2 separate regions of the Homo sapiens genome follow, and region 1 is linked to region 2. Evidence: promoter capture Hi-C in 16 types of primary human blood cells and fetal thymus (Javierre and others, 2016). All regions are on one chromosome and are shown on one strand. The core of a region is centred on a gene start or on the middle of the fragment in contact, and the rest is flanking DNA. Distances in the headings are between cores, read along the strand shown. Region 1 overlaps ATP2C2 (ATPase secretory pathway Ca2+ transporting 2). Region 2 holds the start of NECAB2 (N-terminal EF-hand calcium binding protein 2).

Region 1 (4,583 bases), core at 80-2,579, 480 kb before region 2:
CAGGTTCCAAGCACACATTATTGCCGTCAGCATGCTGCCTGACTCCTTGGGACGGGTGACCTCCTTGACTAGGGACCCTGCTTGAATGCACTTAAAAGTCAATGTTACATGCAAGCTTAAAGCTCTGGGCCGGGACCACAGGCACTGACCCCGCAAACCGAGCGACCCCATCCTCTTCTCTTCCTGCAGGCAGAATGACCTCTGCTGGGGCGTCAGCGGCAGGGGGATGCCCCCGTTGTTGTACATGGTGCAGTAGCGGATCACCTCTTCCAAGGCCCCTTTCATGAAGTAAATGTCTTCCTGATCCTTAGAAAAGACAAAGGGAAGAAATCCACTATCACTGGAAGCCTTGGTTCATACTGACCATCACCCCACTCTGCACAAGGTTACAAAGACACACACGGGGATCTTTGCAGCGGAGTTATTTATCATAGGCTGGTGCTGTTCACAGGTGCTGGACAGGTTCGCGAAGTTCTAGAATCCATCCATGGAACGTTTTGCAGTCCAGAGAAAGAACAAGGCCAATCTTCAACCTGTACTACCCTTGTTCTTTTTTCAGTTCCCTTGTTATGGTCACTCAGAGCGTCTTGTATGTTTCATGCACGGGAGGTATCATCCCAGCTGGGACTGTGCCTTTGGGGGTGTGATTAACTGGGAATATTTCCATTAGACTGTTGCCTCCCTAGGGCAGCACCAAGTCTATTTTGTACCCACCCCCAGCACTTGGCTTGTAATAGTGAAGCCACATGAGTAGCTGATCATTTTTCCTGTGTTTTTCTTAAGCTCTGTCATGACAAACATGTAGACTATGAACTCCACGGGGGGAGGCCCTGGGTCAGTGAGAGTCACACTGTACCCCTAGCCTCAATACCGGACATACCTGGCTCACGTGGGTGCACAGTGTGAATGTAACACTGTTATAAGATAATATAATATTAATTATATATGTTATTAATATGTAATTAACATATTAATGTTATTAATAAATATAATATTAATTACAGATGTTAATACATTAATTATAGTACATATGTATTGTATATTATTTATATGTATTATATTACATTATATTATTTATATGTATATTATATATTATATATAACTAATATATTCTTATACAATTATAATATATATTACATAATATATATTAAATAATATATGTAATATATGTAATATATATTACATATTATATAATTAATATGTTAATATAACAAGCTTATATTAACCAACACAGACATCTAAGACATAATATTAAAAGAAAATCTTAGGGGGAAAAAGCAAATTACACACACTATAAATAGTGACCTTGTTTTGAAAATACCATCCAGATGTTGTCGTTTGCATATTTAAAATCTGCAATGCTCCATCCCAGACTTAAAATAGAATTACCTCTGGGTGGGTGGTGGGGAGGGAGGGAAGAAGGGTGGAATGAAAGAAGCTTTCATTTTTATGTCATATTTCTATACTTTTTCAATGAGAATATATTACCATTGCCTTGCAAGGGAAAAGATTTAAAGGTCTAAAAGTTTTTTGAAAATCTATAATCCCTTCTAAGCCCCTGAAATGTACATGTGTCCATCCATGCACAGGAAGGGCCTGGCATGAGCTGGCTGAGCTGCCCACAGCCCTGAGTGGGAGCTGAGCAGTCTGCGTGGGCAGACATGATAGATTCTAGAAAGAGTGGGAGGGAAGAGGAGGGGTGGAGAAAACGGTAGAAGGCAACAAAAACTTTAAAAAATAGCTTTTAAGGAAAATCTGAAAAGCCACAACAAATCTGAAAAGAAAATTTTAAAAATCAGCTGTAATGTCCACCCGGGGTGGCCATAGCTTGGTATGTGTTCCTCTAGCCAGGGACAACACGTGTGCACACGCTGATGCACCACACAGACACGCCTTCCGTACTGAAGGATTTGCTCCCCAGTATGACGGGGAGATGAGCTAAGAAGTATAAAAAACTTAGCACAGGGCTGCAAAGAGAGGACTGGCAAGTTGGCGACTGGTGTTAGCAGCAGGGCCTCAGTCACTGGATTACAGGCTGGTCGATCTCAACATTTGCACCTGCATCAGAATCTGCAGAAAATGAAGGTTACTGGGTCCCACCCCTGGACCCTTCGACTCAGGAGGTCTGGCATGGAACCTGAGATTCTGCATTTCTAATAAAGTCTCGCGTGGTAACAACCGCTGCTACTCCAGGGACCCTGCTTTAAGAACTTCTGTTTTAAACAAAAAGCCAGAAGCAGACCCAAGAGAATCAAAGGTATGATGGTGATTAAGTTTTTCCATGTATTTGGAACGTCACAGAAGCAGCCAGGAACTTTCAAATTATCCTTGAAGTCTGCATTTTGCTTTATCTCTGGGTGGGGGCCCGGGCAGAAAGAGAGAAGAGGTTGAAGATTGAAAGGTCTCACCTCAGTCTTCAGACTGCATTTCACCGCCATCCACTTCTGCTCTGAACTGAATGGAATCTCTTTTTTTCTTATATATGAATTTTTAATATCACTTAAGTCCATCTAGCATAATAAAATGACACATTTTTAGTGAGTCATCCGAAGCCAATCTCTATACAAAGCTCAGTCCATTTAAATTATTCATTGTTCAAACCACCTCTGGCAGATAAGAAATCCAAGCATTTAGCACATAGAAAAAAGGCCATTTCTCTTGGAATGTCCCACCTAGAAAAAAAAAAAAAAGTCTCTTCTCTTGGCTGAAGGGCAGACAAGACGGTCTTTGCAACAGCTTCTATCTGAAATCTGCTTAGAAACAAACCTGCAGTGTTTCTGCCGGGAGGAATGTTTCAGACTTGAAGGTGTAGCAATTTCTCAGACGGAACCCCCTGAGTCAGTGAGACAGCCCTGCGTCCAGAACATGGGGTCCTTGCCAGCCCCCCGTCCACAGCCTGGGGTCCTTGCCAGCCTGGCCCTTTGTTGCTCTTTGGTGGCTTTTGGATCAGTGATGTGACAACTCAGAATCTCAGTTTCCCCAGGTGTAAACCAGTCATGACCCATGCATCCCACTGTCCCACAGGGGGTGAAAATGCGGTGCAGCAGGGGCACAAAAAACTACTCCTTTTACGTAGAAAGTGCAGATATGCGTACAATACAGTGTATCTACCATATTAAATTTCATGGGGAGGGAGTGGGGTGATTAGGGAAGAAATGCCTAAACCATCTCCTTAGTGGGGTTGAATTGTACCCCACAAAAGATATGTTGAAGTCCTAACCTCGGAACCTCTGAATGTGACCTGATTTGGAATAGCGCCTTTGCAGATATCGTCAATTTGAGGCTATTAGGGTTGGCCCTAAGCCAACATGACTGGATATAAGAGGAGGAAGGCCGGGCATGGTGGCTCATGCCTGTAATCCCAGGACTTTGGGCAGCCGAGGCGGGTGGATCACGGGGTGAGGAGATCAAGACCATCCTGACTAACATGGTGAAACCCTGTCTCTACTAAAAATACAAAAAGTTAGCCAGGCGTGGTGGCAGGCGCCTGTAGTCCCAGCTACTTGGGAGGCTGAGGCAGGAGAATCGCTTGAACCTGGGAGGCGGAGGTTGCAGTGAGCGGAGATCAAGCCAGTGCACTCCAGCCTGGGCAACAGAGCGAGACTCCGTCTCAAAAAAAAAAAAAAAAGAGGAAAACGCTGCGCAGAGGCGTGGCGGGGAGCACCTCGTGACAGAGACAGAGCTTGGTGTGAGAGACCAAGGCAGGGATGCGTCTGCGAGTCAAGGAACGCCCGGGGCTGCCAGTAACACCCAGAAACTGGGAGACGGAGCCTGGCCCTGCTCACACCTTGATTTCAACTTCTGGCCACAGAGCTGTGTTTCAGTGTGTTTTGGTTACACTAAATCACCAGCCAGTGGTGTTTTATTTCAGTAACCCCAAGACCCTAATCCAGGAGCAATAATGGAAGAAAAGCCCGGGAACCACTGGCCTGGCCTCAGTGCCATTTAGAGCAGGTGAGACAGGTAAGAACCACAAAGTGCTTGCCCCATGCCTGTCACACAGGCAGCACTTCCTACATGCCAGCCAGTGTTTGTTCTGTATTCCAAAATCTTAAGCCAGGCCCCAGGAAAAAGGAAAATTATAACACATCAAGGAAATCTCTTCTGGGTGCTGGAACCTCTCTCCTCTCTAGGCTGCAGGGACGGCTGGTGGCGGAAGCAAGGTGACACATGGGTGTCATTCCTGCCAGGCGGTCAGGCCGGCACCTTCCCTTCTGGGCGGCGAGGAGTTGTTGAATGGGGCAGACTCAGCACTATTTTAAAACGGGAAATGAGCTCCATTCACTATTACAGACATTGCAGAGAGAATTCTCTTCTGTGAATGGAAGAAAAATAATACGATGTCATGATTTCTGTTTGTTTTTTTGAGACGGAGTCTTGCTCTGTCACCCAGGCTGGAGTGCAATGGTACGATCTCGGCTCACTGTAACCTCCGCCTCCTGGGTTCAAGCAATTCTCCTGCCTCAGCCTCCCGAGTAGCTGGGATTACAGGTGTGCACCACCATGCCCAGCTAATTTTTATATTTTTAGTAGAGATGAGGTTTCACCATGTTGGCCAGGCTGGTCTTGAACTCCTGACCTCA
Region 2 (4,592 bases), core at 1,259-3,758:
TCAGTGGCTTGTTTTAACAAGGAGGGTACTGAGACCCAGGGAGAGGCAGCAACATGTACACATTTCCCGACACCAGGGAGGGCTGCTGGGGCCAGGTCAGCCATGGAGGAGGAGGAGGTAATACTCACTCTGACCCTTCCACCCTCTGTCCTCGCCTTGGGGTAAAGGACAGATGCCCTCGCCCCCCATCCCTCCAGGCAACGAGAAAGGGGGCACCCTTGGTCATTTCTAGGCACCTGGGCGGTGAGACTGAAGCACAGCTATGGGAGGGCCTCTCAAACATCACCCCTCCTCCTGGCTGAACCTCAGATCCCCAAGCCCTCCTCAAAGATCCAGCCTGGGCACCCCGCAGCCCCGTTCCTGACTGGGCAAGGCTCCTCAAAACTGGGGTCCCTATCTGGGTGTCCCAGATCCCCCTTGAGGCCAGGCACCAGGTAGGTGCCGGCTCTGGGCAGGAATGCTGAACACATGAGTGACATGGCAGGGCTGACACCTGGTAATGTCAGCCAGCTCCAGGAGTCTGCATGAGCACCTCCCGCCCCACCCCCCGCTCATCACTCCTTTTGGCAGGTGAGGAGATGGAACCTCAGAGCCCCCACCCTGACTGGGCAGGGCTTCCATGCAGGGCAGCTTGGGGCTGCAGGGCTCTGCCCAGGACTTTCAGTGGGAGCTCTGCGGGGGTCCTGAGGAGGGGATGGTTTGGCTGCATGGGTGTGTCTCTGGCTGTGTGTGCGTGCGTAAGCGAGTGCGTGAGTGTGTGAATGTGTGCCTGCGAGTGTGGCACTCTAGAGCTCCCCCTGCTCTGGCCGGCCCTCCCAGCCCAGACCCCGGCCAAGGGTTCCAGGAGCAGGGAAGAGGAGAGAGGAAGGGAGGGAATCCCCCGACTCACAGGGATCCGCGATACACGCGTGTGCACATTCACACACACCCACCACTCTCCCAGAAATCCACCACACAGGCAGAGGCAGCCCCCAGCCCCACCCCAGCAGGACCCTCGCTGAAACACGCAGTCAACATCCCCAGAAGCCTCCTCCACCTCCTCCTAGCACTCTCTGCTGGGAGAAGTCCTCCTCCTCCGAGCCGCCCCCTGAAGATTCCTCCCTCCCGGGTGGGGCGGGTGGGAGGGTGAGGTGGGCTTCCCAGAGATGGGTGATTTGGGTCCCAGGGGAGTTAGGAGGGGTGAGGGGTGAGTCTGGTCCATGAAGAGGACCCAGCTCTCTGTAGGGTAGAGGGGTGTGGGGAAGGGAACAGAGGACTTGGAATGGAAGGGGGCGGGGTGGGGAAGACCAGAGGGGTACCAGCTCAGGGCTGATGGGCGATGGCTCTGGCTCAATGGAAAGGAGACGAGAAGACAGAAGGTGGGGAGGGGGCTTCACTTTTAAAGTGGCAGTAGCTGGGGCAAAGGGTCTTTGAGCGTGAGATGAACGGGGGCTCAGGGTCTAGGGCGAAGAGAGGTGGGCTAGAGGTAGGGGTTGTTAGGGGTCTCAGAAAAGTATCGCTCCGGACAGGATCCGGGATGGAGAGGAGGAGGCGGCTGGACGCGGCGAGGGGCTCCGGTCCCGCGGGGTAAAGGGTGGGGGTTTGGCTTGGACAAAACTAGGGGGACAGTGGCCGGGTCCGGGGGCTCACGGCTCCCCACTGTGGGCAGGCAGGGACTCCGAGAAGCGCCGGTGGAGGGGCGGAGGAGGGGGGTCTCCCGGTCCAGGGAGAGGACTGGGCTGGAGACCGGCCTGGACGTGGCGGGGCTGGGGGCTCCCGCTCCGGCACGCGGAGGGGCCGGGGGTCTCCTGCCCGGGTAGGGAGGGCCTCGCGGGTCGCGGCGTCGGGGTCCGCCCGAGGGGCGGAGGGGGCTCCGGGTCCCAGCGGAGGCCACGGCGGGGGTCCCGGCCGGCGCGTACTCACGTCCAGGATGACGGCGGTGCCCCCGCGCGGCGAGGCTGGGCCGGGGTCCGCGGGGGCGGCGGGGGCCAGCGACTCCCGGGGCTCGCCCATCCTGGCGCCCACCCAGCGCAGCAGCCCGCCCAGCGCCCGGCCCTGCTGCGGCGGCTCCCGGAGCAGCCTGTGCGCGCCGGCCCTGCACAGGCGCGCCGCCCGCTCGCACATCGCGCCGCGCCCGCCGCCGCCGCCCGGAAGCCCGCCGACCCCCGCCCAGCTGCGGCCCGCCCCCGCGCGACCCCCTCCCCGCGCTGCCCGCGCCGCCCCGCCCTCTCTCCCGCTGCCCCCGCGGCCGCGGACACCGCGGGGACTGGCCGGCGCCGGGGGGCGGGCCGGCCGGACCCCGAGCCACGTGCCCGCTCCCCGCCGCCCCCACCCCCGCCGGCCGGGCGCGGGGCCTGAGGACTGCCCGCCGGGGCGAGGGGCGCGGGCGCAGCCACAGAGGGGGCTACCCGGAGGGGAGGGGTATGTGGGGCCTGGGGGCGGGGCGGCGCCCCTGGGGCCTGCTCCCCAAAAGTCTCCTGCTCTCCCCGCTTCTAAAGTCCCCCCTCCCACTCGCGGCGCGCAGCAGAGGCCGAAGCGCGGGTGTCCAGCGAGCCCGGAGCGCCCTCTGCCGGCTCCAGCCCCGGGGAGCGGCGCCCACGCCCCGCGGCCCCGTCACGCCCGCGGGCGCCCATCCTTAACTCCCGCGGGCGTGCACGCCCCCTCAGGCCGCCCCCTTGGTTACAAAACGCCCAGAACCAGTCTTCACCCCAGAACATCTTTCCTTCATACTCCATCCACCCATCCATCTATCCACCCACCCACCTGTCCGTCCATCCATCCATCCATCCATCCACCTGCCTACCCGTCCATCAATCCATCTATACATCCATCCACCCATCCTCCCATCCATCCATCCGGCCGGCCGACTGTCCGTCCATCCATCCACCCACCCTCCCAACCATTCATCCATCCATCCATCCACCCACCCAGCATCCTCCCATCCATCCATCCATTCACCCACCCACTCATCCTCCCTCCCTGGCATCCATCCATCCACCCTCCATCCATCCATCCATCCACCCTCCCATCCATCCATCCATCCATCCATCCATCCATCCATCCATCCGTCCATCCATCTGCCCGCCCGCCCATCTGTCTGTCCATCCACCCACCCACCCTCCCATCTATCCATCTATCCACCCCCCTACCCTCTCATCCATCCATCCATCCACCCACCTACACACCCTCCCATCCATCCACCCACCATCCTTCCATCCATCCATCTATCCTCCCTCCCTCCCATCCATCCATCCATCCTCCCTCCCATCCATCCACCCACCCACCCACCCCCCTCCCTCCCATCCATCCATCCATCCATCCACCCACCCACCATCCTCCCATCCATCCAACCATCCTCTCATCTATCCATCTGTCCACCCACCCACCCATCCTCCCATCCATCCATCCACCCATCCATTTAAAAGATGAATTAAGGAGAACCCACTAGGTGCCAGGCAGGTGCCCAACCACGGAGTTCCAGCAATGGGCAAAACAGATGGTGTACTTGGTCTCCCAGAGCTCCTGGAGCTTACATCCAAGTGGGCAGAGCCAAACACTGAAATGATTCCACAAACAAATGAACAATTAAAACTGAACTGCTGGAAGGGTGTGGTGGCTCATGCCTGTGATACCAACACTTTGGGGAGCCAAAGAGGGCGGATCACTTGAGGTCAGGAGTTCAAGACCAGCCTGGCCAACATGGTGAAACCCCGTCTCTATTAAAAATACAATAACTAGCTGGGCGAGGTGGCAGTCACCTGTAATCCCAGCTACTTGGGAGGCTGAGACAGGAGAATCATTTCAACCCAGAAGCAGAGGTTGTAGTGAACCAAGCGCCACAGCACTCCAGCCTGGGTGACAAAATGAGACTCTGTCTCAAAAAAAAGAAAAAAAAACTGCACTGCTATGAAAAGGTAGCACCTTAGACCATGAAAGGAGTATTTGCTGTGACGGCAGTGGAGGGGTTTGTGTCAGAAGAGGCTTCCTAGAGGAAGTGATTCTTATGCTGAGACATCCCAAGGAAAAGGAGTTAAAGAAAGGCGGGAAACTGTCCTGGGCTGGGGACTCTCTGTGCAAAGGCCTTGGGGCAGGCAGAGACCTGGCCAGCAGGAGGGACTGAAAGGAGGCCGCATGGCAGAACAGAGAGGAGGGAGGCCTGGGACAGGCTGCGGAGGGGGCGGGGCTGCAGCGCCCTCCTGGACATCACTGCCTGCACACACCCGCCACTCCCACCCCCAGACTCTAGTACAGCTGCCCGCTCAACTGCCCCCACACTTGGGGCACCATCCTTTGTACCCCAAGGCCCCAGCCATGGACCTCATCCAGGACCACATGCCCCAGGACTCCTCCCACAATCCCCTTTCCTCCCTTCCCCCCAGCCCAGTGCAGGGTTCCGGGAACGCAGCTCCCTCCGAGCACAGAGTCCTCAGACGCATGAGAGCAGGTGGGCACTGGCTTTATTTGGGACCTGCTTCTGGAAGGCGCAGGGCTGCAGGTCTCCTGGCTGGGTGCTCAGCTGGTCACACCAGCAGCTTTCCCCACAAATCCCAGGTCTAGGCCAACCCTGGCCTGCGGCCGCTGTTACCACCTCAGACACTGGTCTAAGTCCAGGG

What was found. Contacts are between HindIII fragments. The CHiCAGO score rates a contact against its expected background, and 5 or more counts as called.
Region 1: a contact is called between a fragment that was not itself captured here and the fragment with the promoter of NECAB2 in region 2, in 2 of 17 cell types (M2 macrophages and megakaryocytes). The highest score is 5.3, in M2 macrophages.

Annotation. Positions count from the first base shown.
Region 1 is chr16:84,444,256-84,448,838 of GRCh38, reverse strand. It overlaps ATP2C2 (ATPase secretory pathway Ca2+ transporting 2), which reads right to left. Exons shown (of 27, transcript NM_014861.4): 16 at 2,409-2,510; 17 at 150-306. Among named protein-coding and RNA genes, the nearest start is that of ATP2C2-AS1, 21 kb to the left of the region's middle. The HindIII fragment of the contact is 223 bases long and covers 1,218-1,440 here.
Region 2 is chr16:83,966,160-83,970,751 of GRCh38, reverse strand. NECAB2 (N-terminal EF-hand calcium binding protein 2) reads right to left here and starts at 2,508. Exons shown (of 13, transcript NM_019065.3): 1 at 1,903-2,508. The coding sequence starts at 2,103. It overlaps OSGIN1 (oxidative stress induced growth inhibitor 1), which reads right to left. Exons shown (of 6, transcript NM_182981.3): 6 at 4,420-4,592. RefSeq lists a silencer at 2,443-2,632. The HindIII fragment of the contact is 14,372 bases long and covers 1-4,592 here.